Linked DNA regions of Homo sapiens: regions 1, 2, 3, 4, 6 and 7 are each linked to region 5. The links are contacts of gene promoters, found by promoter capture Hi-C in blood cells and fetal thymus (Javierre and others, 2016). All regions are on one chromosome and are shown on one strand. Each heading gives the region's core, a stretch centred on a gene start or on the middle of the fragment in contact. The rest is flanking DNA. Distances are from core to core; before and after follow the strand shown.

Region 1 (2,872 bases), core at 366-2,865, 400 kb before region 5:
ATATCACAGGATGGTAGAGTCAGAAAGGGCTTTCGAGATCATCTAATTGAAGACTCTCACCTTGAAGATAAGGAAATGGAACATGTGAGCTGTTACCTGCCTTGCCAACAGCCCACAGCCAGTTAGCATCCCACCTGGCGATTCCTGGGCCCTGCATACACTGGCCCTGCCTCCTCTCCGGCTGCATCTCCCACACCACTCTCCCTCTCTTGGCACCTAGCCTGCCCTCCCTTCAGTTCCTCCAGTGGGCCAAGTTCTTTATTGCCTTGGGCCCTTCCCATCCCTCTCAGAATGCTCTTCCACCCCTCTGACCTGTGCCTCTTGCTTAATTCATTTCTCTTCATCCATCAGGGATGAGGCATTCTTCAGGGATCCTTCAGTGGCTCAAACACCACTTCTCAAGGAAGCCCCTCCTGGTTCTCCAGGCCTCACTCTCGTGCTCTCTGCATCTGCGTGGCACTTCCCTGCCACAGTCCCTCTTGCTCTTTATGCAGCCAGGGACCTGGTCTGTCTTGTTCATTGCTGGCATACTCAGGACACAGCAGACACTTAATGAATGGCTGCTTCACTTCAAGCCCTGTGGAGGTTCTATCACTAGAATTCTTTTTATAGTACAATAAAAAAAAGGGATTGTGAATCTTTTCTTGGGGTTGCAATATAAACTTACAGTCCAGTTGCAAGGAAAGAATACAACAAGCTGAAGTAAAACTGCTGAGGTGTTGCAAGTAGCTGGAGGGTGAATCTGATGATCCCATCCCCACGTCGTCCTTCCTGCGATGGCTATCTGGACATGCGGGTGTGCTGGAAAGGCCAGTGCACAGCCAGGAGCCCTTCACACCCCTGAATCACAGAGAGGTCTTTGGCTCAGGGGTGACTGTAATCTGAATCTGCCTATCGGTACTGCTCAAGCCCGTCGGTATTTACAATGTTAGAAGAGAATGCAAGGTAAATTGTTTAGTGTGAAAAAGGCTATAAAATGAGATAGTCCTGAGAGTTCTTTGATTTTTTTTTTTTTTGTGAGTGGGAGGGGGGTAATGGGTGTCTTTGAGATGCTGATGAAAATTGTGGCTGCTCTTTCCAGAAAAATGCACATATGCACATAATTTCTTCCAATTCAGATGTTTCATGTACCAGAAAGGCAAGGTTAAGTGACTAGCACGAGATTACAGAGAGATAGAGAAAGAATGGAAGATGAGTTTCCTTATTCCCCATTTAGTAACCTTTTCCTTATGTGCCTCTGTCTCCTCATTGTCCACACAGGAATAACAATAGTACGGTTGCTGTAAGGATTATATTAAAACAATACTTGTAAGAATTTAGCATAAAGTCTACCACATAGTAAATGCTCAAAAAACATTAGCTCTTCGTATGATGGTGATAGTGTCCCCCTCTCTCTTCCCAAACAGTGCCTTTACTAATTGAATTGATCAGCATGATGACTTGCCACCTCCTGACCAGTCCTAGAATGCCTAGTTTAGCCCACTCGTGGGATGGCCACCTTCAAACAGCAAGTGTATGATGCTGAGACAGGACTGGGGCAGAAAGTCAGGTAAGCCACCCAACAGGTGGGCCAGAGGAATGGTGTCCTCTGAGACTGGTTAGCATCCTGTCTGCATGGTGGATGGGATTAGCTGCAGGACACACTTCTCACTTCTACAAGGGGATCATGATCATGACACTTTCTGATGTCTCTAAAGTGACTGCAGGTGGATGATGACCCTCAAAAAGCTGCAAAAATTCTGAGTGGATGGTAAGCAGAACACACAAGAAGATCCTTAGGGGACAGATGAGTTTCAGGTGTCAAATGCACAAATCCCTGATTCTTTAAGTATCAATCCGATAGGTCAATACAAATATTTGGAAGCAGGTTTGCAAAGAAACTAAAAAAAGAGAAACCCCCTTTGGCTGAAGAAGTCTAGTGGAGGGGACAGAGAAGTAGAAGGGGCCAGGATATGGTGGTTCTAGTCCCCACCTAGCTGCTCCTCCTTGGGACAGCTGCTTCCTTCTCTGGGCTTTGGTGTCTTCTCTTGTAAGATGACCAAGTGGTATCACGGGCTTGGTGGGTCCCAGGAAGCCCCTTCTATGCAGGTGGAACCTCAGTGGAAGAGACTGGATTTGGAAGTGGGCTCTCTTCCTGGTTCCTTTCCAAGTCCTGCTCAGGTGAGAGGGTCTTCCTCCTCCCTCCCATCCCACCTCCCACCTACAGAGATGGGTTCAGCCGCTGCCCTGTTGCAGGGGGTGGGGGATGGTGGCGCAGAGAGGGGAAGCCCCTCAGGGAAGGAGGTTGCTTTCTCCACGGTCAGCAGCATCCCCGCCCCCGCTGCTCCTGCGTCCCTCTCACGCCCGCATCCGCTGCAGGCCAGGCTGTGCTGGAGCAGAAAGATCTAGGCTCGATTTTCACCCCGGATGTGGCGGCAGCGTCAGCAAGGAGGAGAGGTTGTTTTGTAATGCGTGGCGCTAAAGGAGCGTTTTCCCTGGACTTGGGTTCTGGCCCTCACCGCGAGGCGTCATCGCTGCCTTTGCTTTACTGGTCCATGCGAGTGACTCCTTCAAACAGCTGCCGGCAAGCCTAGGCTGAGCTTGCAGGATCTCGTCCCAATGTCCCAGACTCTACCAGGGGTTATTGATAACTTAAGACCAGAAACACCAGAAACATTTCTGAGCAGAATGAATACATGATTAGAATCCAATACTGTAATGCCGGGGCCAAGAAGGCATCTCAGAATATGTTTAGTACAAATCTTCCATTTTACAAATAGGTAAACTGTGGCTCAGAAACAGGAAGCAGCTTGCCAAGTCACAGGCCACACACTAGCAGTGTTAGCAGTAGAACAGAAATGTACAGTCTCTCATTATTTCATAGTTTACTTGG
Region 2 (2,856 bases), core at 357-2,856, 270 kb before region 5:
GCGACCTAAGAATCGAGCCCATGCCTCTGGCCAAATGCCTGGACTGAGCTGCCATGCCTTCATGGAGGTGGGGATAACACCGACCATGATCAGGAAGAAGAGGGTCAGCCTGGCCCGTGATTCTGGAATCTGGGTGAGGTGTCTGTGCTGAGGCTCTGCACGTGCAGTCATTTGTGCCGTGCCTGCTATCCTGCCCCCCTCTGCAGTCAGTTCCCAGGCCCTGAAGTTCCTCTCGTGATGATTCTTCTGTCCACTATAATCTCCAGACACCTCTCACTTGGACAAATGGAACAGCTTCCACAGGCCCCTACCTCTAGTTTTCATTTGCTTGTTTGTTTAGTTTTTTCCTACTGAGGTCACAGCAGGTTTCCTCTGCATGGCTTTCAGCATATCTCATCTACTGAAAAACCTTTGATGTTTCTTCATGCCTTGAGGAACCTTCACGCCTTCAGGAACTACTTCCTTACATGAGAACTCCTAAGTTTCTGGGGAGTTGGAAAACAGGCTTTGTGGGGAAAACTTAGAACGGAGTCGCCCACTTTAAAGACATTTTTGGGAACAGTTCTGGTAGCTAATCCCAAATTTCAGGAAAATTAGGACCAGCTGATCTATTAGCTTAGCTATAATTTGTAGACACATGCCCTGTTTCTGGGATGTTAAGAAGTTGTTGGCATTGCAGGCCATATTTAATCCCTTTTGAGTCTGTCCCAGTCTATTCCACTTGAGCCAGTTTGGCACTCCCAGTAAAGGGGGTTAGGGGTTATACTTACTAACGTGGAGGCTGCTACCTTTTAACATGCAAAAAAGGCCCCTTGACTCAGGGTCTAACCTATCTCTGATCAAGCGATAGAATGGGAAACCCAGAGAGGCAAGCCCCATCTTCCTGAGGCAGCTAGAGCTGAAACATTTCTGAAGATGGGGGTACCTGTTGAAGTTTGGCAGAACAGTAGTTGAGAAGCAGCAGGAAGGTGAGCCATGATGAGGTTATAGTGGTGGCAAGCCCCTGTTAATTTGTAGACTATGGGAGCCGTAACAGAGGGCCCTGGGGCATGTCATATATGGCCATCTTGTGGCCACCAATCAAACTAATTACACATTGAAGGAGGTACTGAACTTCAGGCATAGCTTGGAGAGGCTTCTATCTGGCCAAGAGAGGATACAGGAGAAGCAACTGGGACAGGACGAGTTGGCTCCACCATTTACTGGATTCTCAGAGGCTGAAGTGTCTGAATAGGAAGAAGTCAGTAGCAGGAGATGAGATTGGCCCAGTTGTAAAGTTGGTTCATGGGGACTGGCCCCGTGGGCTGTTCACAGACCAAGTTATATCTGAACAACAAGACACTGGGAGAAAGGAGGTGACAAAGCCAGGGTATGGAGCAAGGAGTTGGATGGATGTCACTGGAGGGGGCAAGCCAAGAAATCACCGCTGGAGAAGGGGTCAAGGTAAGAAGAAGGCAGATGTGGGTGTCAAGGTCAGCACAGGCAGTGATGGGACAGGGTAGATGCAGACCACCTTTATTCCAGGAGGGAATCTTGCAGTTACAGCTTCTTAAAAGAGGAGTCAAATATAGACACATGCCCTCCTGGGTAAAGCCAGGACTTTAAAATGTCAGGCTCCTATTAGTGGCTACTGCTTAGTTTCAATCCTTTCCTCCACTGAACTTGTCCCTGAAGAATACTTGTGAACACACAAGCATTTCTGCCTCCAAGGCTTTCTTTGACATACCTCCTGCACTTACGTCAGATACAGCTGATCCACTGTGGTCCTCTCACCTGCTTAGCCCAGATACTGTCTCAAATTTTTTCAGCTACGGAAGTCACCACAGTTTTGGGAACCTGTCATCCAGAATGCCCTCCCCTCCTCACCACATTTATTAACCCCAATAATTTATTTTACATGTTACAAGGTACCCCTTCCTTTAGGAACCATTCCCTGACCCTCAGGGATCTTGCCTACCTCTGAATGCCCATAAATCTCATTACCAGTCACTTTTATTTTAAATTTAGTCAGATATTTCCATGGAATAAAATTTAGATTCCAATTCAACCTTTTAAAAATCCAGTTTTTCATGTGTGCACATTACAGGGTTCTGATTCTATTGGAAGGTCCTCAAGGGCAGAGGGGGTGTCATATCTTTTTGTTTTCACTCCTGTGACCAATAATGTCCCAAATGGTTCTATACTCACAATAAATATCATTTGTATGTCTGCATGTATGCATGGTGTGTGTGTGTGTGTGTGTGTGTGTGTGTGCAAGCGCATGTATGTGTTGTAATCAAAGAAAGAATTCTAGCCTGGAGGAATCCTGTATTTTTAAATCAAAACTTCAGAATCCTCCATCCAAAGGTAAACCAAGAGACTGAGTCAGTTTCAGGGCTAAAAGCATATTTCTTCAAGTGCAACATAGGCTCGTAGCCTCCTGGACCCTGCATCACTCAGGAGAAGCAGGAGACCTCCATCTGGGTCCTTCCTAACAGCGTCATAAAATGGCCCAGTTGGAGGTTTCCTAGCAAGTCGGGGACATTGGATGATCTGCCTTAAGCATTTGTGTATAATACCTGCTGAAAGAAATAGTCTTGGAAAACAGCTTTACCTATAGAGAAAGGTGAAGATAAAAGCCGCGTCTTGTCAGTTTCCAGAATACAGAAGATGGTCATATTGCTCGTAACATCAGGGAATGAAACAGACAAGCTGATGGAAACGTCGTACAGTTCTGTGACATTATCTTGAGATTTCTGCATAACACCATCATACTCGATAGTTGAATTCTTGGTTCTTAGCAAAACACTCATCTTCTTAGGTTCTGGGTAACCGTGTATAGATGAGCAGGTCAAATTTATGTACACATTTTCTGTT
Region 3 (2,700 bases), core at 85-2,584, 410 kb before region 5:
TGTTGAGGGAGCACAGAGCAAATAGTGATATTCTCTGGTGATTGCTGGGAAAGAGAATTAAGTCAAGGTGGGGACCAGAAACTTCATGAGGCCAAGGCCTGTCTCTTTTCTTCACCATTGTTGCCTAGCACCCAGCACAGCACCTGGCACAAATGATTCACAAATATTCGTTGAACAAATGTATGAAGTGTACACAGTAAAGACCAGAGGCTGGTTGGGCAATTCCTGGACAGGACAAGGAAGGGGTCACCCCACGAGACTGATGGTTCCTGTAGGCAGAGGCTTCTCCATGATCATAGCTGCATCCTCAGCATCAAACAAAGAACCTGGTACTAAATGGATGCTCTAAAAATGTCTGTTGAACTTGTTGTCCAAAGAGTAGCTACGTGGCTAATCCAAGTTCCGGAGTCAAAACAAGTTAACAGAGGATAGCAAAACAACGTCAGGAGTGAACACTGCCACATTTCAATTTTCTTCCAAATAAAAACCACCCCTACTCTCACCTCTTGGCCTCAACATTTCTGGAAATTGTGAATCTCTAGAGCAAAATGATTTTGCTCACATTTCAAATAGAGAAAACCCAGGCGCAGACCTTCTGAACATAAAATCACTCAGTAAATTAAAGGCACAGCAAGCTCAAAAGCTACTATTTTTGAATTCCTAGATGGCAAAAAAAAAAAAAAAATTCTAGGTTGCCTAGAAAAAAGAGAATTATAAGACCAAATTTGATTTCCAATAGAATTTATCTCCATAACGTGAGTACACTGCTATGTCTCTGGTTTATTGTACTGTAATCTTTACTCTCTTTCGTCACAATGATCATAAAGATACTAACAGTAGGGTCTGAAGCCACTATTGCAGAAAGGTGAAATGTGTATGTTTTAATGAGGGTGAACAGGAAAAATAAACCTGAAAAAGTTTAATCAATAATCACCAAACTCACGTGCCTGGCTGTAGTTGCAGCTTCCTTTACCTCTTGCTGAAGAGACATCCACAATATGGGTTTCTATACACAGCTGGTGCACATTTGCCAAAGAATTAGGGACTCTTACCTGCCATCACCAATACGGCCATCCCTAGTTCTATATCAGACTTCATTCCTTCTGTACCAAAGCAAGGCACATGTTGTTTTAAAATGAGGGCCCTCTTTCGGCACTGGGGGAAACACAAATTGCCCGGTCACCCTTGGCTGCCTCCCGCAAGCCCAAGCCCGGCTTCTGCTGTCTGCCTGCCAGCTGCACATGGTCTTGCCCTCCATCTCCCTGACAACAGGTGTGACTTTTGGGGAGTCCATGCCTCATTTAGTTCTGGTAATGGCTTAATTGAGTTGGAAAAATGCAAAGACAGGAGCGTAATGAAAAGCAGCTGAGCTGGGTGGGTTCTTGTGAGTCATTGGAAAAAGCTATCAGGGAAGGGAGGGAAAAGGATGAACAAGAGTGGTGAGGAGCAGCACAGGGCACAGAGCAAAGTGGGGAAACAGAAGCCTAGACAAAGCAAAGAAAGGCTGTAAATAGAGGAAGCTGACATTCATTAATGCTGCATCCTGAGCTCCTTGAAGACAGGGCCAGGTCTGTCCCATCCGCGGCCTGGAACATGGAGGGGCTCCATGATGATGGTTGAGTGGGTGCATACTTGTGTGTACTGCCGGCAACATAACAAACTCTGTGTCCACATAGGACTGAGTGAGTTGCTGGCGACATAGCCCACAGGAAGTTAAGAAACTTCTTGTCCTGAACTGTTTCCTTTATGCCTTAAGTCAGCTCTGCTGACGGATGTATGAACACCAACAGAGTTAATGAAATGGTTCATTTGAAAAGCGAAGATATGCAACTCATGTTTTTATAAAGAAAAATGCCAGAGCCTCAAGTCCTACATAAAAGAAACATTTCTGTGGAATAACATCCTGGCGTTGCCTCTCCAAATCATAAGGAACCCTGACTACCCAGGGTGGCATTTTTCAGTATGATGTCCCAAGATGTGTCACCAGGAAGTGTTCTGGGGTAAAACAAGTTTGGGAACTAATGTACACTCTGCCACAGGAGCACATATGCCTCCTTAAAGGCTCTGAGAAGTCCTGCAATAAAGATTATTGCTTATTTTGGTATGGGACACTTTTTTTCTTCCCTGAAGGACACTTTTCATGATGCCGTGAAACATGGGCTTGGAAGGGCTGACTGAGTGGAAAGCATAAAGTCTGTAATCTGAGATTCTCGCATTTGTTTAGGTGTATCTTTGAATGGGGAGATATGTCTGCCCCTCAATGGGCATAGCAGTTTTTGTAATCCCAGGTATGAAATTCCAAAGGGTATTATTGGAAAGAAGGACTCAGGTGGGGTGGGTGACTGCTGATGTAACTTTGAAGTCATTCTCTGGTCAGGCATATGTTTCTGTTCTCCGCTACTCCTGAGGGATGGGTTTCTATTGTACATAGAAAGTTGTACACTGAGCCTTTCCCCATCCACTTGCAACTCTCCTGACCTCACACAGTGTCTTTGTCTGAGGACCACTGGGGACATGTGGTGGTGTGCTTGTAGTCTGGCTTCTAAAAGAAAAACAAGACCTGACTTGTGGTGTATGCTAAATATTCCCACCATGGTCAGTTTCAAGCTACCAATGGTTTAACAACATATTTGTAAAAAATCTGAATATTTAACCATCGGCTCTCAAGCGCCGATAGAAGCCTGTTCTAGCACATCGTGG
Region 4 (2,712 bases), core at 147-2,646, 430 kb before region 5:
TGCCCCTGGCTTCTTTTGCTTTTAAAAAGGAACTGACAGTTCCTTTTAAAATGAAATATAAAATTTTACTTGAGATTATTATCCAATATTATATGCTTCCAAATTATTTATTTTATTTGGGGAGTAATATGAGGAAAAAGAATAAACGAAGGGGAAGAGAAACAAAAAAAGCTAGTAGAAAGATCCAAACATAGGAGTACTGCTTGAACCTGGGAGGCGGAGTTTGCAGTGAGCCAAGATCGGGCCGCTGCATTCCAGCCTGGGTGACAGAGCAAGACTCTGCCTCAAAAAAACAAAACACAAACAAACAAAAAGATCTGAACATAGAACATAACATACAGACACAAAGAGACTTACAGGCTCACAAAGAAAACACCACCAAGAAAGACACATAGATCTAAAAGAGGGGCAAATACAGGACATGCATGCACTTAGAAGCTAACATACTCTTTTATGCCATAATATTCCCATCTTGTGGTCTTTTAGGGTATTTCCCCTAAAAGATTTTAAAGTCAAACGGTTGCTCATTATAAGCATAAATGGAAATCACCTCTTGGCACACATTCTTAGTAGCGTCAATTGAATTAAACTGAACATTAGAGACTAGAAACCCCCCCACTCTGGTCTAGGACTTCCAGCTCTTATACAGATAATGAGGGCCAGGTCACACAGATAATGAACAAGATAATGAAGTTCATTATCTTGCCCAGTTCCTGTGGTAAGAGCATGGGGAAGATCCAGGCCCAATTCCCTTCTCTAACGCCAGCCATGTTTTCTTATCTCCCTTCCATCTTCTCTGGCTGTCCTCACAATTTATCCCCCATTCCCCAACTTCCAGCAGTACCAGGAATTCCTAGAAAGATCAGCTCCATCTGACTTCCATCTTCACCATGGCTGCACGCCTGTTTTCTGACTAGTGAGTGTTGGTGTGAGGTGCAGGAGAGTAGGAAGCACACCTTGTGCATGATCATCCTGAGAGAAGAAAGAAGGTGATTTCATACTTACATGATGTTCCACTCAAACTTGATAGTGGGCACGTGACCAAAGCTTGTCCAAACAGAGCCTAGAATACCTTGGCCACAGTGATTGATTCAAGAATGGGTTGTTGGCTCAAACGGTTCCCTGCAAAGGCCTATAGGTAGTGTTGACAGGTCAAATCAACTAGACTGCTATTCACTCATTCATTCATTCAATGAATATTCCAGCGACAGGCATTCTGAACATAGTACTGAACAATACAGGCATGGTTCTGGATCTTATGAAGCTTAGAGTACAGCAAAGGAGTAGTGAAGAGAGAGCTGGGAAGGGATGTGAGGAGGGCTTGGGGGTCTCCAAGAAGAGGTCAGGAGGCAATTGTGAGTTGTATGCTCATAAATCACCTGCTAGTGCTACTTTTGAGGCATATGAGTTGACTGATAAATATTTTTTTGGGGAGAAAGAAAGGAAAAAAATTGTGATTGACCCTTATAACCAGAATTTTAACTAATAAGTGTCTATTTCAGTCAATTAAAGAGCTGTGGAAGCTTAAGCTGGGTATATAAACATCAAAAATGAGGAAGCGAGAATGATCAGAAAATGTGTTGTGGGAATACGATTTGAAAAGACTTCCAGGGGAAAGTGGATTTTGAAAACAATTTAAATGTTCCTGGTGGAAAATGACAGCAGAGATAAAAATTGATGGCCCTTCTGGTGTGGGCTATGGCCTATGCAAAGATGCTGTGCCAAAAACTAATGAGTGATTTGTGAGGAGGTGTCATGCAGGTTGGCTTATAGGGGAAGAACTGAGAGAAGGCAGACATGGAGTTCCAGCTGGAGACTTGGATTAGATTATAGGTGATAAGTTTCCATATAGATCTTAATATTGAGAATGAATGAATAATTGCTAGTTGATTTCCTGATGAAGATATAGGTCTTAATAATGAGAATGAATAATTGCTAGTTCATCTCCTGGCCAAGACCTCAAATTCTGGAACGCCCATCCAACAGCCTGGGTTCCTGAGGCTCAAAGGAGACTCACACCAAGCACTCAGGACATTTTGGCCAATTTCCCATGTCATTCCTCCCTAGAGTTCTGATCCCATTTTCCTATCTGTGCTGTCTCCTGGGGAGATTTTTCCAGACCATGTAAGAGTCAGGAGAACATATCTTTACCTGGGCCATGGTTGGGTGAAGTGTCTGTGTAGTGGACATTTTGAATGTTGGCTGCTTTGCTTCTATTTCTTCCTCCTTTTGGTAATGGCATCCTGACTTCCCACTGGAGATTCACTCCCCCCTTACTCTAAGTCTATGTAGTCTGGAGGACTGCTAGCATCAGGGATGGATCCATGACTTAGGAATGGTCAATAAATGTGGTTTCTGGAACTTTTACAGGATATCTTGGGAAGTAAGGAGATCCTAGCTTCAAGCTGCTACAGAAGCTGAAAATTGCTAACCCTGGGGAATGAAGAACAGAAAGATGAGATGAAAATACCTAGCTGTACCTGGAACACTTCTGAGATTTTTAGTGACATGACCCACTCACTACATTTCCTCTTTTTTTGTTTATGCCAATTTGGTTAGGGCTTTCTATTACACAACTAAAAGTCCCAGTTGTGACTGTAGCCTGTCATGGCTTTTTTTTTTTTCTCACAGGTCCAAGGTCTGGTCTTGACCATCTGTATTTTATTTCCTTATCTGGAAGAGGAGCCATTGAAGAGTAGAACTGCCAAGTTT
Region 5 (2,898 bases), core at 18-2,517:
CTGAGAAAGGCGGAATGATGAGATATTAAGGAAGGGCAAGGCTGGGGAAAGGAAGTGAAAAAATACTTACAGTTTTACCACAGAAAAATGAGAAGTTATAATTCAGTGATCTTGAAGTTTCCTTCCCGCTCTACAATTCTATGACAGTTGTTATGCAAAAAACGAATGTCTTACACATAAAAACTTATATGCTATATTTTCCTTCCTGGAATCTATATCATCCAACTGCTAAAGCAAAAGAGCTCCTTTTTCTACTCCAACAACATAAAAGAGAATAATTTATTAAAACTAGTTCCAGAGGACATAAAGAAAACCAAAGGGTAGAAATCATAGGGAGGTAAGCATCTTCCAAATAAAGAAATTAATAACACACCCTCGAATACTTTGATAATCAGTATTTGATAACTGAGTGAAATCTGGGGTCCAAAGAGATATACAGATCATTGGGATGGTTGAGAATTTCTCCCTTTGCAAAGAACACACCAAATAAGAACCCTCATCTGCCAGAGGTGAGAAAAAGTGATGAAAAGAGAGAATATTGCCCCACCAGCCTCAAGGCATTCAAGTTCCCCGGCATTCGGTCCTTAGTCCCTTCCCATTTGTCACCTTATTATTTTCCTGTCCACCCCTGCATCATCCACCTGTCACGTCTGTCTCCACAGTCACCTCTACAGACTTTTTTCACACTTTCCCTTCCTGTCTGCTGGTCTCAACGCTCTCTGTCCAGGGTTTACCCACATTTGCTCTACTCCGATTCCTTCCACCGACCCCCTAAGACTCCGAGCAGGTTAGAGGATCGCGCTGCCTCCCCCCTCCCCGCCCCGTAGTCTCCAACAGTGTAAGGGGTACTGTGGGAACAAAACCCAGAGGGGTTTGTGCCTCTTCACCCCCATCCCGGGAGGCTCCCCCTCTATCCCCGGATGGTCCTCACTCACAGCGCACAGTGTGGAAGGCGCAGCGCGGCTGCTTCTCGAAACTCTCCCCTAACTTGAGAACCCGCTCGCGACGGTCTAGGTGTGAGAATCCCGCTGCGCTATTCATAATTACTCTCCTGCTTTGACTTTAACTCCGCCACCAGCGCTCACTATCTGCCACCTCAGCCTGAAGCAGCTGCACTTGATCCCGCCAGCCAAGTCACCCAGACTCCACCCCGCGCTCGACGCGCACCGCCCCACCGGAGCGTCTCACGTTCTGATTGGCTTATTAGCAAAGGGCGCTCCGCCCCTTGACTCCGAGGCTCCTAGTCCCGCCTCCAGGCCCCTTCCCGCGTCGCGACGCACGCTGCCCCGGAAGGCCGCGGCGCTGTAGTGCGGCGTGGGAGCCCCAGGTTCTTTAGTGGAAGAACGCGAAGCGAGGATGAGGTAACTTATCTGAGGTGGTGGCTGGGGAGGGAGAGGGCCCCAGGGCGCCTACCAGGAGGCCAGGACCCCAGGCTCCTGGACGAAGTCAGCCGGCTTGTAAGAGCTCTTAACGGGAGAATCGGCCTGCCCTCACGCCCACTCTGTAGAGATCTGGTGTGGAAACTGAGGCCTGGGGAGGTGCAGTGTCCAGGCACAGGGCCTAGTGTCTTATCCAAGGCCTGGTAGCGCGAAAGCCGGGTCTAGAATCTGGAGTAAAGGAGCCCAGAGGCCCCAGAATCTCGGTCCTTAGACTTGAAGCGACGCTGTTACCTCAGTAATCGTTTTCTGACCTTTTTGTACCAGAGGAAGTTTCTTGTGGTCCTAGGACTGGAGAAGGGGATGTGTAGTGGGGAGGAGAAAGAGGATTCGGAGATAGCAACTGCAGACATTTAGGATCAGCCGCAACAGGATCGCACTGAATTTCCTTTTCATTTATTTTCCTCACAGTGATCCGTGGAGGCAGTAACAGGCGCGGCGAGGGAGAAGTGATTCCCGAAGAATCAAGGCTGGGCCGGACCCGGTGGCCTGGCAACAGGGTAGTAGCCTTAAAATAGATAAATAATTGTCTTTTTGTGTCAAATTTCATGAATTTAATGTAAAGATGGGAGAAGTGTTGAATTATAGGAGAAACACTCGAGAAAGTTTACAGATGGTTTCCATAACAGGTGGTTTTTCAGGGTAATTACGCAATCCAACTGCACTCCCTCACCTTCTGCCTTAGGCACATTTGTCAATTGATTTTGGGGTAGGTGGTTATGTCTCCTTCAACCTGTCTGTGTAAATCCTACCCTTTGAAGGTGTGCCGAAGCTGTTTCATATCGTAGTTAAATGCTTTAAGGCAGATGGTGGCTCTAGTTTGAACCCCTGCTTTATACTTAACAGTGTGACTTTGTGCCAGCTAATTACATTCTCCAGAGTTTAAGTATGCTCATTGTTCAAATTGGGAAAAAAATAATAGTATCTGTTCCTTAGAGTTGTTGGAATGATTAAATGAGTTAATACATGAAAGCAATTAGAACAATTCCTGGAGCATGATAAGAGGTCTCCAAATGGTTATTTAAGGCCCAGCTCTACACTTATACTACATTTTAAGACCATCTTGGTGGCTGCCTTCTCTTCTAAATAGAATCATTCTAGGAGGTAGGAATTGCTATTTTGTTTACAGCAAGAAAAATGGTTCAGAGAAGCCCAGTCCTCTGACTTTATGGCCTGTATTCTTATCTGTGTCATCTATTTAGCATTTAACATATATCTGATATTCTTAAGTATATTTTTTTGTATCTGTGTGTGTGTACACATGTACATAAACATACTTTTCTTTCCCAACCAGAACAATAGCAGAGAGTATGTCTTGTGTAGAATCTTTGCATCCCCTGCATCTACCATACTGCTCTGCACATATTTGTTGATGACAATAATGATTTAGTGATGTTTTATTACGGTAGCCAGGAGGGCACAAACTGTTTTGAGCCTATTTTACGTTAGAGAGGCTTCCAAC
Region 6 (2,700 bases), core at 201-2,700, 450 kb before region 5:
TGGGTGGGGGCCGGTGCCCTTCCTAGGTGGGGAGCAGGCACCTCACTTGGGTCATCCTGAGTCACCACCTTCTGCTCACAGTCGCGCTCCCACATGGTGCCCTCTAATGATTTCTCATTATAATCTTAACAACTATCAAGTCCACCAATTTGCCCTACAAATCACTGAAAGGCGCCCCTTTGGAAGAAAGTGGTCAGGGGAAGAAGTCACCAAGAGCTGTAAAATTTGAGGCTTCAGGAGATTTAATTGCAATGGTTTGGCCTCAGCTTAGAACCTCCTGCTAGACTGGTGATGGTCTTCCCTGGATGCTGGAGGTCCAGGCCCTGACACTGCGGAGACAGGGCATTGGGCCACCTGAGGGGCTGACCAGCTTTCTGGCTTCCTCACCATGAGCCAGTGATACTATGGCTGACCCCATGTGTTGGGCCCAGAGCTCTTGGGCTTATTACAGAGAGAGTGATTGTGATCAGTGGGCTAGGCAGTACAATCTGAATGGTTAATATGTATGTTTTGTTTTGTATTTGAAGTAAGGGAAAAAATAATTATTACAGTATCAGTAATAATATTAACTAATATTTATTGAATGCTTATTGTGTGCTAGGTACCAGGCTAAAGTACTTTATATACATTATCTCGTTTAATCCACATAAGAGCTCTGAGGGGAAAGAATGATTATTATCCTTATTTTAAAGATGAAGAAGCTGTGGCTTAGAGAGGTTAAGGTTCCCTGCCTACAGTCACTCAGCTTGCAAATGACGAAGCCATGGCTTGAACCCCGGTCTGTCTCTCTGGCTCCAGAGCCTGGGTGACCGGCAGTATTAATACCACTGCTGGAGGGAACATAGCTCTGACATTTGAGGGTGGATCTTTCTTGGAACCACGCTTTCCTACCCTAGCAGCTATTAGCAGGCCAATAATTGAGAACTTACTCTGTACAGGGATAGGGTGGATCTGGCTTCAGGAATTCTTTGGGGTAGAGATGGGAGGGACTTCTGGACCCTTGAGTCCCTGAAGGGGCTCACATAAGGCTTAGCTTATGGGAGTGAGGATAGTGGGGTGGGGAAATAGAGCTCAATAATACTGCCTTATATAAACCAGACTGACATTTTTCAGTTTATATTGTCCATGGACTATTACAACAGAAGCATTTTCCTAAGGATAAAGCTACATATAGGAATATTAATTACAGATACAGCTCATTGGTTTATGCAGTCCCTTCCTAACAATTTGAGGTGATTCTTGTGATCCTGGAATCTAAACATGGCATCAGTATCATGTCCTGGACAGAAGCAGACATATGGTATAGGAGGGGTGCAAACCTTCTGGATGTTACATAATAGCAGCAGCAGGTAGGAGACAAAATATCATATGGTTTTCATAAATAGGAGGAGATACATTCTCCTTATGTTGTGAACATTTAAAATTCAGTCTGTTGTCAAGGCATTGGGCAGGACTGGTGACATTCTGTCTTTCAGACTCTCAGCTCTAGTGGTGGCAAATTTGATGTCCCATCAGTCTGCACACTCTGGAGGGTAGTTTAAAGCCATAGTTTCATCTCTGAGCTGTTGGGTGGGATAGAACAGAGGAAGAGACATTAGATGTGGGTGAACAGCAAATCTGACCGTGGAGATCTCAATGCTTTGACAAATGCAACCACAGAAACACAAGGCTCTTCTTTTTTTTAATTTTAAAGGGAACATGGGTCAATTCACTGTCATTTAAGATGGTGTGACTAAATTCGGGGCATTTGATGTGTCTATTATCCCTTCTTCCTCAGAGGAAAGGAGTCTGGGGCGATTCCTCTTCCCTGGGACCCCAAGAAACCTCTCTGCATTCTCCCTAGCCCAGTCTTCTCCTTCCATTTTATGAATTCACTACGTTTTCTGTAACAGTGCTGCCTCCACCACTGATGACAAAGCTCTGTGAACTGGACACTACAAGTGCTGGGGACAACTCTTCAGGGTCCTCCACCTCTGGCCGCTGGTCTCCACCCACAGGTCCTTGCAGACCTGTTTCCTGGACGGTCAGATCTAAGTCCGTTTCCCCGCACTGCAGCGGGAGTAATGGCTCGTGTCGGGTCAGCGTATCGCTGCTTTTCTGGGCCTCCAGGGAGTTCTGGTGCGTAGAATTCCTGTGGGCCATGGCGTTCTTCTGAGGCTCATCAAAGCTCAGTGAGAAGGTGACCGTGCCGCTGCCAAAGATGACCTTCTGCTTGCATCTGGGCTGCTGCTGAGATCGTTGCTGCTGTGGGAGGGTCAGGGGCTGCTGCTGCTGCTCTTGCTGGGTTAGGGCCAGCGGCTGCTGCTGCTTCTGCCTCTCGGGCTGTGGGAATGGGTCTTCGCTGTTGCTCTTGCTGCTGATGGAGGAGGAGGGGGTGGATCCCGTGGAGCCTCCAAGGCTGCTGGACCGCTTGCGGGAGACGTTGCTGCGGCGCAGCGTGGCCCGGGCAGCCACCTTGAAAGCGTGAGCTGCGGTGCTGCAACGCACCTCCTCGATGGTGTTGCGGGATGGCTTGAAGAGAATGATGTAGATCTTGTTGAAGAAGATGCACGCCAGCAAGCCAAAGCTGGCTGCCAGGATGGCAATCACCTCTACGGCAGAGACAAACTTGCCATAGGTGCTGGCATAGGCTGGAATGAAGGAGATCCAGACGATGAAGAAGATGAGCATGCTGAAGGTGATGAACTTGGCTTCATTGAA
Region 7 (2,700 bases), core at 120-2,619, 490 kb before region 5:
TGAGTGATGGGATTCTAGGCATCTGGCCCCTTAGAGAGCTTTCTAGTTCCCAGAATATACAGGATCCCAACTCTTATAATCACACAAAAAGCTGATCTTGTTTTCCAAGCTGTCATAGAATGATGTTTCAGAGAGAAAAAATAAGAAGGAATAATATAAGAAAATAAGGCAACAAACTAAAAACCTAAAGTAGTAATTTGTACATGTTTTCCTTTCATAAAATATGCAAATAAATGTTTACTACATAGCTAGATGATAGCTAATCACACAAAGAAAAATATATCAGGGATGGGTGTGGTGGCTCACGCCTGTAATCCCAATACTTTGGGAAGCCTAGGTGAGTGGATGGCTTGAGCCCAGGAATTCAAGACCAGTCTAGCAACAGAATGAAATGCCATCTCTAAAAACAAAACAAAACAAAACCCCCCAAATCAGCCAGGCGTGGTGGCATATGTCTGTAATCCCAGCTACTCAGGAGGCTGAGTGGGGAGGATCGCTTGAACTCAAAAAGTTGAGGCTACAGTGAGCCGTGATCAGACCATTGCACTCCAGCCTGGGTGACAGAGTGAGACCCCATCTCTTAAAAATGAAACAAAACAAAACAAAAAAGAAGAAGTGAAAAACACATCAATCTGCTAACAACATTGAGTTCTATTTTTCCATATATAATTTGGTGCCCTATGACATTTCGGAGTCACTATAGACTGTCACCTCTGTTCTATTAGTTGAATTACCTTTTAACTATGAAAAGACTAAAACACTATCTATTTGGGCAAAAGTGTATGAAGTTTGTAAGTAGATTGCCTTTACAATATTATTCTTCATTCAATCTATTTAAAAAAATTTTCCCTGCAGTGCATTCCAAGACTACTTCATCAAATTGTTAATAACCTTAGACTTCAATTACACGTTGGCTTCACTTGGTGAGATTAGAAAAGTTTCATCAGAAACTGAATTAGTAATTCTAGAATCATATCTTGTAAGAGCTTTAGAGAAGATACAATACAAATTCTTTTACCCATGGAGAAAATGAAGCTCAGAGAAGAAATGTGATTTGCTCAAGGTCACACTCACAGTTTGGGGATTATTTGAGGCTTCATCTGAAAAACTCTTATTTCATCTTAGTTGTAAAGAAACCTGAACAAAGCCACAAACATCCTAAACTTCTGGTTTTCATGTTCAACCACAGCCTTTCCACAGGGACAACTTATGAATCAAGATTTTGGCTCAGACTTTTTCCTGAATGGCATCAACTCACCTTATCAACAATCTCCTGGATTTCTGGAGTGGCGGGTTTGGCCTCAGATAAGCCTCCAGGTATCATTTTGGCTGATTGCTTCTTTGCTGGACAGGATGCTGGAACCAAAGTGAACAGGGAAGTGTGGAGACTCGTGTTTTAAAAGAGGCGTTCACTAGCTCCGCCTATAGAATGCTTTATTTTCCACAAACAGCAAAGAGGCATGGGGAAAATGAGTATGCCGCCAGGCAAGTCTTCTTGCTTCCTGGAGAGAATATGCTACATGGAATTTGGAAGAAAGAGGGGTTGGAGGATGAACAAATGGGCAAGTACAGGAGTCATGTCCTAACAAGCATCAAACGTCCCTGCATTCTCTTTGACAATGGTTCCATCCTGTTGCATCATCTGAATTATGAAATCTGAAGCCGCAACTAGAATTTCCAAATGTTTTAAAACTTCTAACACAAAATTTTATTTTTTTTAAAGCAAAACTTACTAATAATGTCAAGGTTAGTTTAGAATTTACTTGACTTTAGAAAGAAAGCAAAAGGATCTATCTGGAGGACCTTGGCTGGATGTGTCTTCTTTACTCTTATTTAAATATCTGGAAATGTTTAACATACGGTAAAACACAAAGAATAAAATAACAAACATCTATATTTCTATCACTCAGAATTAAAACTTTTAACCCTTTTGTCATATTTGCTTGCTGTTTTTTATTTTTGTAGTTATTTTTAGGAAATAAAATATTACAGATATGGAGGAAGCCCCACACCCCACGCAACCTTGCCTTCCAGAAGGCAAAGTACATGGTGAATTAATATCCTTCCAGGCCATTTTTATATGTGTGTCTTTAAAATTAAAATATGTCTTACTTGGTGTGTCTTTAAAATTTCACTTAAATTGTATGCTAAATATATTCTATGTTATGTTCCTTTTTCTATTCAACATGTTTTTGAGCCTTTCTATGTTGATATACACATAGATCAATCCACAGATAGATCAATCCTGTTCATTTCCTTTAACTGTGATATGCTATTTTATGCTAGACCTATCTATTTAGTCTACCTATCTAATTGCTATATTCTAGTTCATATTTTACATACTCATTTCTCTATTGATGACGATTTTCGTTGTTTCTGGTGTTTCATTCTTACAAACAACGTTGCATTTTTTCTCCTTTTTACATGAGTGAGGGCTTCTGCAGACAACTTATCTAGAAGCAAAATGGCCACATTGTGTGAATATTTATGTATATTATTTTATTCAATTTTGGGAATATATAATACATACACAGGATAAAAATGTTTGGAAGGAACCAGGCTTTACAATATAAGGAATTATTCACTCACTTAATTCCTCAGACACCCTTCTACTCTCCAGAGACAATTATTGGCACCAACTTCTTCTGTATCCTTCAGAGACATTCTTTACACATACAAATATAAAAATAATTGGAGGCT

The links. The method cuts DNA at HindIII sites, captures the fragments that hold promoters and counts their contacts. A CHiCAGO score of 5 or more calls a contact.
Region 1: a fragment that was not itself captured here is called in contact with the fragment with the promoter of IQCB1 in region 5 in 1 of 17 cell types (M2 macrophages); the score reaches 5.0 in M2 macrophages.
Region 2: a fragment that was not itself captured here is called in contact with the fragment with the promoter of IQCB1 in region 5 in 1 of 17 cell types (M2 macrophages); the score reaches 5.1 in M2 macrophages.
Region 3: a contact is called between a fragment that was not itself captured here and the fragment with the promoter of IQCB1 in region 5, in 3 of 17 cell types (M2 macrophages, M1 macrophages and M0 macrophages). The highest score is 7.4, in M2 macrophages.
Region 4: a fragment that was not itself captured here is called in contact with the fragment with the promoter of IQCB1 in region 5 in 4 of 17 cell types (M1 macrophages, M2 macrophages, M0 macrophages and 1 more); the score reaches 11.2 in M1 macrophages.
Region 6: a fragment that was not itself captured here is called in contact with the fragment with the promoter of IQCB1 in region 5 in 3 of 17 cell types (M1 macrophages, M2 macrophages and M0 macrophages); the score reaches 7.2 in M1 macrophages.
Region 7: a contact is called between the fragment with the promoter of CSTA here and the fragment with the promoter of IQCB1 in region 5, in 2 of 17 cell types (monocytes and M1 macrophages). The highest score is 7.6, in monocytes.

Annotation. Positions count from the first base shown.
Region 1 is chr3:122,229,903-122,232,774 of GRCh38, reverse strand. The region is part of intron 1 of CASR (calcium sensing receptor); the gene reads right to left. Among named protein-coding and RNA genes, the nearest start is that of CASR, 48 kb to the right of the region's middle. The HindIII fragment of the contact is 6,113 bases long and covers 1-2,872 here.
Region 2 is chr3:122,106,238-122,109,093 of GRCh38, reverse strand. CD86 (CD86 molecule) reads right to left here. Exons shown (of 7, transcript NM_175862.5): 4 at 2,594-2,856. Among named protein-coding and RNA genes, the nearest start is that of CD86, 52 kb to the right of the region's middle. The HindIII fragment of the contact is 7,908 bases long and covers 1-2,856 here.
Region 3 is chr3:122,246,594-122,249,293 of GRCh38, reverse strand. The region is part of intron 1 of CASR (calcium sensing receptor); the gene reads right to left. Among named protein-coding and RNA genes, the nearest start is that of CASR, 64 kb to the right of the region's middle. The HindIII fragment of the contact is 3,946 bases long and covers 1-2,700 here.
Region 4 is chr3:122,264,022-122,266,733 of GRCh38, reverse strand. The region is part of intron 4 of CASR (calcium sensing receptor); the gene reads right to left. Among named protein-coding and RNA genes, the nearest start is that of CSTA, 60 kb to the left of the region's middle. RefSeq lists a silencer at 1,546-1,647. The HindIII fragment of the contact is 259 bases long and covers 1,267-1,525 here.
Region 5 is chr3:121,833,429-121,836,326 of GRCh38, reverse strand. IQCB1 (IQ motif containing B1) reads left to right here and starts at 1,267. Exons shown (of 15, transcript NM_001023570.4): 1 at 1,267-1,361; 2 at 1,848-1,936. EAF2 (ELL associated factor 2) reads right to left here and starts at 1,118. Exons shown (of 6, transcript NM_018456.6): 1 at 936-1,118. The coding sequence starts at 1,041. The HindIII fragment of the contact is 9,498 bases long and covers 1-2,898 here.
Region 6 is chr3:122,284,355-122,287,054 of GRCh38, reverse strand. CASR (calcium sensing receptor) reads right to left here. Exons shown (of 7, transcript NM_000388.4): 7 at 1-2,700. The coding sequence ends at 1,864. Among named protein-coding and RNA genes, the nearest start is that of CSTA, 40 kb to the left of the region's middle. The HindIII fragment of the contact is 4,595 bases long and covers 1-2,700 here.
Region 7 is chr3:122,323,917-122,326,616 of GRCh38, reverse strand. CSTA (cystatin A) reads right to left here and starts at 1,369. Exons shown (of 3, transcript NM_005213.4): 1 at 1,259-1,369. The coding sequence starts at 1,324. The HindIII fragment of the contact is 6,914 bases long and covers 1-2,700 here.